Regions from separate parts of the Homo sapiens genome. Here region 2 is linked to region 1. Evidence: promoter capture Hi-C in human tissues and cell types (Jung and others, 2019). All regions are on one chromosome and are shown on one strand. The core of a region is centred on a gene start or on the middle of the fragment in contact, and the rest is flanking DNA. Distances in the headings are between cores, read along the strand shown.

Region 1 (3,836 bases), core at 484-2,983:
TTCCAGTTGATACCCCAAAGGCAACCAGTACTCTCACCTCTAACGCCAGATTGTTCTCACCTGCCTTTAAGAAATGAAGGTATTATATATACATACACACAGTGACATGCACTCATCTTAAGAAGACAGTTTGAAGAATGTTTACTTATGCGTGCTCCCATGTAACTACTACCCAAATCCAGGCATAGAACATTACCAGCAGCCCAGAAGGTTCCTCCTCTTGTTCCAGTCAACAACTCCGGCATAGGCAGCCACTCCTCTTCTTCTTCTTCTTCTTCTTATTATTATTACTATTATTAAGACGGAGTCGTGCTCTGTTGCCCATGCTGGAGTGCAGTGGAGCGATCTTGGCTCACTGCACTTTCGCCTCCCGGGTTCAAGTAATTCTCCTGCCTTAGCCTCTCGAGTAGCTGGGACTACAGGCGCGCGCCACCACGCCCGGCTAGTTTTTTGTATTTTAGTAGAGACGGGGTTTCACCGTGTTGCCCAGGCTGGTCTCGAAGTCCTGAGCTCAGGCAATCCGCCCACCTCGGCCTCCTAAAGTGCTGGGATTACAGGTGTGAGCCACCGCGCCAGGCCCACTCCTATTTTTAGCTCCAGAGATTAGTTTTGCTTCAGGCTCCCTTAACGTCCTGCTTCAAACCCCTATCTGCCCCTTCATCGGCTCCACCTGGAGGCCACCGCTTCCACGGAAGCATGACCCCTTCCCCTGCACCCGCGCGCCCCAGAAGCTCTCAGATACCCCCACGATTTCGGTGACCTTCCGCAAGCTCCAGGAAAAGCCCCTCCTCTCCTGACGCCAAGGGTTTGTTGGGGTTGGGGGGTATCTCCATCAGCCTCCCTCCCCCAGCCACCCAAATTAACCAACAATCTTAGTAAATGCAGCGACTCGCTAGGCAAACCCAGCCTGGAGACAAATATCCGGCCCCTTTCCTACCAAACTGTCACACCTAGGCATTGGTCTGCAGGGAGGGCTGGACAGTGGAAACTGAAACCCTCTGCAAGCCATCACGAATCCACCGGGCACTGGGGACGCTGGCTCCCGCCTTGGCAGCATCCCCCAGAAGCCTGGGCCCTGACCCCACACCGTCTGGGCCTCAGTCTCTCATCGGTAAAGTCAGGGGTAGGGCCCGAGTCTTCCAGGACCGCTTCGAGCTGGGACAAGCCGTTTTAAATAGCCCACAACCCGCCGAGGCCATCAGAGCTGCGCCTGCCGGGCCGCCCTCGACCCCCACCTCGGCCGGGCAGGTCCGAGGCCCCGCAGGCAACATGGGCCCGCGGACTGCGGGACGGGGCTCGACGGCCTGAGATCGCGACTCTGCCTCTCCGATACTTGGGGTCGTCTTCGGCCCCGGGATCCGCGACGCGCGCGGTCGGACCCCGAATACTGAAGGCACCGGGTCCGCAGGGCGAAGGCGCACACGCCCACCAGGCGCGCTCTGCGCATGCGCGGGCTCCGCAATCTCAGCGGCCCACTCGCCCCGCCCCGCCCCCCCCACCCCCACCCCGCGCCGCTCCCCAGGCCCGGCCCTGCCTTCCCAGCATCCCGGCTCCCTACGGCAAGCGGCGAGGCCCGAGCCCGCCGGGAGCAGGGAGCCGGGCGCGGGGCGGGGCGGCGCGCTGAGGTCAGCGCGGCGGCGGCCGGCCCCGTAGTGGTTGGCTGCGCTGGTGCTGGCCGCGCCCTGGTTGGCTGCGGGCCGCGGGGCTGGGCCGCCGGGTCGGGGCTGGGGTCGGGCTCGGGCGCCGGCCGGGCTTGCGCAGCGCTAGGCTCCTCGCCGCTCCTAGTCTGCGGCGGCGGCGGCGGGGAGGGCGCGGCCGCGGGCGGGGCTGAGGGCGGCGGGGGCGGGCCGCCCGAGCTGGGAGGGCGGCGGCGCCGAGGGGAGGAGAGCGGCCCATGGACCCGCGGGGCCCGGCGCCCCAGACTCTGCGCCGTCGGGACGGAGCCCAAGATGTCGGCCTAGGCCGGGGCGCGACGACGCGGACGGGGCGGCGAGGAGGCGCCGCTGCTGCCGGGGCTCGCAGCCGCCGAGCCCCCGAGGGCGCGCCCTGACGGACTGGCCGAGCCGGCGGTGAGAGGCCGGCGCGTCGGGAGCGGGCCGCGCGGCACCATGTCGGCCAAGGTGCGGCTCAAGAAGCTGGAGCAGCTGCTCCTGGACGGGCCCTGGCGCAACGAGAGCGCCCTGAGCGTGGAAACGCTGCTCGACGTGCTCGTCTGCCTGTACACCGAGTGCAGCCACTCGGCCCTGCGCCGCGACAAGTACGTGGCCGAGTTCCTCGAGTGGGGTAAGTGCGCGCCGGCAGGGCCGGACCTGCGGCTCTGCGACCCCCGCGCCCCAGCCCGCGCATCCCCACGCCCGCCCATCCCCGCCCGGACAGACCCTGCCGCCCTCCTGCCCACCCAGCTCGTGGGCTTCGCCTCCTCTCGCTCTGGCAGCGCCCCCAGGCCCGCAGCCCATCTCTCTCCAGCCGCTCCTTGCACCCTCGTCCCTCCGCTAGCTTTTCATCCCTCCTTGCCCTCCCTAGGCTCGACATCCGCGTTCGATCGTCCCGCCCCCTCATCCTGCCCCTTGGAGCCACATCCTACGTTCCCACTCCCACCCCCTCCCCCCCGCCGGGCCCTCGCCCTGGCGGCTTCCTAGATCCACCCTCCGAGTCTGGATATCATTTCCTGCAGCACTCACTGGGATATCCGCCCCCGCCCCCGCCCCCGCCCCCGCACCTCGCCTTTGGGGTCCGGAGGCAGTGTGGAATTAGTTCCCTTTCCCCACCCCACGCTTCTCTGCGTTGTGGGGGCAGCTGGGTGTGCTTTCTGCATCTGCCTCGCCCACTGCCCCGTGGGACCCCCTTGCATCCCCAGGGAGCCCAGCTCTAACGGCCCCTCCTGGGTGACAGCCTGTCTACATCCCCTTGTTGGTCAGAGCCTGAATACCTACTTTGCTGTAACACCTTCAAGGGAATTTTAAGGTTAAGGCTTTATTTTAAATAAACCGTGCAAGAGGACTTTTTTTTTTTAATTCCAATTCTGCTAGACCTTTGTGATATTTGGAGGGGTAGCTGGAGCTATCACTTAGAAACTTTCTCATCTGAATTTTGCATGCCTTCTCTAGTTCGTTCCGGATCTATAATGTTTTAATCATTGGTCAGCTAACCTATTATGCTTTTTTAGGACAAAAATTTGATTAAACCATTTAACGATAATTAGGATCCTAAAGACAGGTAAAAGTGCAGCGTGAAACTCTTTTACTTCATCTCTCCCTAACGGGTGTGCCGGTCAAGACCCTCAGACTGTCTCACCTAAAACCACTGAGTAGGAGGAGGAAATGCGTATGTTCAGGCCAAACCTATGAAAACCTTATCCTTGGGTCATTTGCGTCACTGGGCTAGGACTGTTCAGTTCGAACCAGTAATTTCTAATCTTTGGGGCTGATAAAGCTGATATTTATACGAAGAAACAAATGAAAGTGTTCCACAGTGAGGCCTCCAGGCCTCCTACTCTACTCTGCCAGATTGGTGACTGGAATTTGGAATTTTGTTTACAAATAAAACTTAAGTTGCAATATTCTTTAGAGGGCTTCTGTTGGATTACTCTGTAGTGAAATGTTACACGGTATCTTGTGAGAGCAGCAGTAGAAAGAGGTCCTGAGATCAAGGACAGCCTGTGATGCTTTATTTCCGTGGGAACCACCATTCTTGGTTACTTATAGTATCAGTAAATTAAGAGTATTTGCTTTCTAGCGTCCTTTGTCAGTGACACGATTTCCAACTGAATAATTAATTGACTTCACCGTTGCTTTGAAAGTGAGGTCTTTGGTGCATGTTAAAATCTGAATATTTTG
Region 2 (3,836 bases), core at 346-2,845, 540 kb after region 1:
TGACTCTATCTCCCTAGTACTTGGTATGCACTTGTATTCTCTTCAAAGCTTTAATAATGAAATAGACATGAAATATAAGGCTGGGCGCGGTGGCTCACGCCTGTAATCCCAGCACTTTGGGAGGCCTAGGCGGGCGGATCACGAGGTCAGGAGATCGAGACCATCCTGGTTAACATGGTGAAACCCCGTCTCTACTAAAAATACAAAAAAAATTAGCCGGGCGTGGTGGCGGGCGCCTGTAGTCCCAGCTACTCGGGAGGCTGAGGCAGGAGAATGGCGTGACCCGGGGAGGCAGAGCTTCCAGCCTGGGCGACTCCGTCTCAAAAAAAAAAAAAGAAAGAAAGAAAATACAAAATTCAGCTAAATTCTTTTTTTTTTTTTTTTTTTTTTTGAGATGGAGTCTCGTTCTGTCACCCAGGCTGGAGTGCAGTGGCGCCATCTCGGCTCACTGCAACCTCTGCCTCCCGGGTGCAGGTGATTCTCCTGCTTCAGCCTCCCGAGTAGCTGGGATTACAGGTGCCCACCACCATGCCTGGCTAATTTTTTTTTGTATTTTTAGTAAAGACGGGGTTTCACCATGTTGGCCAGGCTGGTCTCAAACTCCTGACCTCAGGTGACCTGCCTGTCTCAGCCTACCGAAGTGCTGGGATTCCAGGTGTGAGCCACTGCCCCCGGCTGCTAAATTATTTTATGAAACATTAAATAATTAAGTCAGTTGAGGTGGCTCACACCTGTAATTCCAGCACTTTGGGAGGTTGAGGCAGGAGGATCGCTTAAGCTCAGGAGTTCAAGACCAGCCTGAGCAACATAGCAAGACCTGGTGTCATGTCTACAAAAATAAAAATTAAAAAATTTATTTTTTGTGTGTGGTGGCCATGTGCCTATAGTCCCAGCTACCTGGGAGGCTGAGGTGAGAGGATCACTTGAGCCCAGGAGAGTGAGGCTGCAGTGAGCTATGATTGCACCACTGCACTCCAGCCTGGGCAACAGAGCAAGACCCTGTCTCAAAAAAAAAAAAAAAAAAAAAAGCAAGAGAACAAAATCCACAGCAGTGAGCATTGTATTGTATATGTAACTTAGTACACAGGCAGGTATTCACCTGTGATAAGATGCCTACAGAAGGATCTGCCGGGCCCCCAAGCATGTGAGTTTTCCCTGCTGGTGGGGCAAGTGCCTGAGTCCTAACCCGGCCAGCACGGGCTTTCCCAGTCTACTCAGTTTTCGCCAGGAGCCTGTACACGTGCTGATTCCTGGCAAAGCTGAATGTCTATCTCCACGTGTCTGTTGGCCAGCATGTGGATAACCTATGGTGCCCTCGCCCATCTTCCCCCGGGCCGATCTTCCAGCTATGTTGGGGGCTCCCTGCACACTTGAGACGCCACTCCTTGGCTATACATGCTGGACCCTTCGGCTCCCAGGATGTCCCTTGTCTCCACTGGTTTTGTCCTGTCTTTGGTCTGTACTGGCATCCCAAAGCTGAGCCTTGAGAGACCAGCTGATGGGGCTGCAGACGCGGTGGGGCAGAGCCCAGCCTGCCACCGTAGGAGGGAGTAGTAGTGGCTCCTGGTGCAGGTGCCAGTCTTAAAGGCCAGGTGAGCTTTGGTCTGGTCTGGCCAGGCAGTGGAAGGACAGAACCTGCATGAGGTGGGGCAAGTGTTGGGACACCCCCAGGCTCTCACCCGGTCCTAGCCACTCCGCATGCTGGCCTTGCCAGTCTTGCCACATGAAACACCTTCCCTCTGACACCCAAAATCCACCTGACCCATGTCACAGATAAGTGACTGGTGCTCAGCCCAGTCCCACCACTGGTGGGTGGCTGATTAGGCGGGATCCAGCATGTCTGGTGCCAGCCCCTCCCTGAGGAAGCTGCCTGCCCTCCTGCCTGCACCTGTGGTGCCTTCCTGGCCGCGGCCACCTGTCCCATCCCAGTTGCGCAGATGGCAGGCTCCGCAGGCCTGGCTGGGTGGCAGGGGCTCAGGTCAGAGAGGATCTCAGTGTAGTCAGCAAATGAAGCCCTCTCCTCCAGCCCCCTCCCCACCATCCACCCCTTCCTATTCTCAGCAGATGGCCTTGAAAATAGAAGCCACCAGAGCAGATGTCTCCGAGCACCTTTACCTGTGCCCTCCTCTGTGTCTGTGCCCAACATGCTGCCCCCCCCCAAGAAGAACTGCCCATGTCGCCAGCCCAGGGTACCCCTCACGTGTGGCAGGCCCCACTCCAGCCGGCCTCCTCCAGGTTATCAGCTGGCCTGCATCGTCAGCGTTTTTGCCCATCAGCGCACTGCACACATAATGGACACACAGGACACACAAATGCAGGCTGCAGCATGCTGCCCACGCACACGCATGCACACACAGCGTGCCGCCCATGATGCACAGATGCATGTGTGGGCCTACCCACGTGTCTGAGTGCACATACATGCATGTGCACGTGTGTTATCTCCACCGTTTCATTCTTTAAGCCTGCCCCTTCCTCTCCTGTCCTCACAGCTCTATCCCGCTCCCCGCTTGCTCCTGAACTCTCTCCAAACAGGTTTCTCCCCTAACCCCATGACATTCTGTAAAGGGCACTGTGACCTATGGACCGAGTTTTGCTCTTGTTGCCCGGGCTGGAATGCAATGGCGCGATCTCAGTTTACCGCAACCTCCCGCCTCCTGGGTTCAAGCGATTCTCCTGCCTCAGCCTACCGAGTAGCTGGGATTACAGGCATGCACCACCAGGCCTAATTTTGTGTTTTTAGTAGCGACAGGGTTTCACCATGTTGGTCAGGCTGGTCTTGAACTCCTGACCTCAGGTGATCTGTCCGCCTCGGACTCCCAAAGTTCTGGGATTACAGGTGTGAGCCACCACATCTGAATCTGTCCCAGCCGACCGCTCCCTTATTTTTGGGACACCTTGGCTTCGGGAAGCCCTGTGCCTTCTTGGCCCCAAGACCCTCTCCCACCTCCTTTCCTGGAAGCCCCGGCTGGGGCCTCGGGCCTCTCACCTCCCATCCCTGGTGCCTCACACTCCAAGCGCCCTCTTTATACTCATGACCCCATCTCCAGGGCCATGGACACCTCTTGGCTCTGCCATCTTCCAGGTGCTCAGCTTTCCCCTAATACCCGGGAGGCCTCCTAGATTCTCCTCTTCTGCTCACACCCTCACCTATAGGTCAGGGGCCTGGCAGGAGGCGGCACTTCTCTCCAGGGACCCCTGGTGCCCTCCGCCTGCTCCAGCACAGTTGGCTTCAGTGGCTGCGGCCTCTCCGTCTCCCTGCAGTGCATACTCAACTAGAGTTGTCGAGAAAACCTAAGCCGGCCATACCACCCCTCCGAGGGCCCTTCCCACTCCCCAGCGTCCTCACACACTTTCCGGGGCCTCTGTGCTTGCAGCCCCAGCCTCCCCCTACTGCCTGTGGCTCCCTGCCTGGGCACACACAGACCCCTGCCCTGGTGGGACAAGCCCTCCCAGAGGAAGAGGAGTGTGCCTGGGTCAGGTCCCAGCAGGAGCATGATGGGGTCAAAGGTCAACTCCTATCCCAAGATGGCAAGACCCCCCTCCGCCCTCCACCTGGGGCTTCCTAGGTGTTTGGAAGTCATGCTCTGCCCATTCCCCTGCCCCAGCCACCCTCCCCGCAGCCCATCCTCCCTCCCTGAGGAACCTGCCCCTTCACAGCTGTTCACACGTCCCTGGGCAGCCTCTAGTGCAGCAGCGATGCCATGAAACCACCGTGGAGGGCACCATCAGCCTTGGCACTGCTGCCTTAGGAGGTGCAGCATGTCCACACTCATGCCCACAGGGGACAGCTTTCATCAGAAGACACTGCAGCAGAGATGGCGGCTGCAACCCAAAGC

What was found. The method cuts DNA at HindIII sites, captures the fragments that hold promoters and counts their contacts. A contact is called where the count stands out against the background at its distance.
Region 2: a contact is called between a fragment that was not itself captured here and the fragment with the promoter of CDC42BPB in region 1, in 2 of the 25 tissues and cell types used here (dorsolateral prefrontal cortex and small bowel).

What each region holds. Positions count from the first base shown.
Region 1 is chr14:103,055,446-103,059,281 of GRCh38, reverse strand. It overlaps CDC42BPB (CDC42 binding protein kinase beta), which reads left to right and starts at 1,733. Exons shown (of 37, transcript NM_006035.4): 1 at 1,733-2,283. The coding sequence starts at 2,109. RefSeq lists an enhancer at 596-1,246 and silencers at 1,242-1,351, 1,392-1,891, 1,982-2,061. The HindIII fragment of the contact is 24,533 bases long and covers 1-3,836 here.
Region 2 is chr14:102,512,646-102,516,481 of GRCh38, reverse strand. It overlaps LOC105370679 (a long non-coding RNA gene), which reads right to left. Exons shown (of 4, transcript XR_007064352.1): 2 at 3,668-3,836; 3 at 3,148-3,251; 4 at 2,128-2,280. Among named protein-coding and RNA genes, the nearest start is that of ANKRD9, 4.8 kb to the right of the region's middle. The HindIII fragment of the contact is 6,246 bases long and covers 1-3,836 here.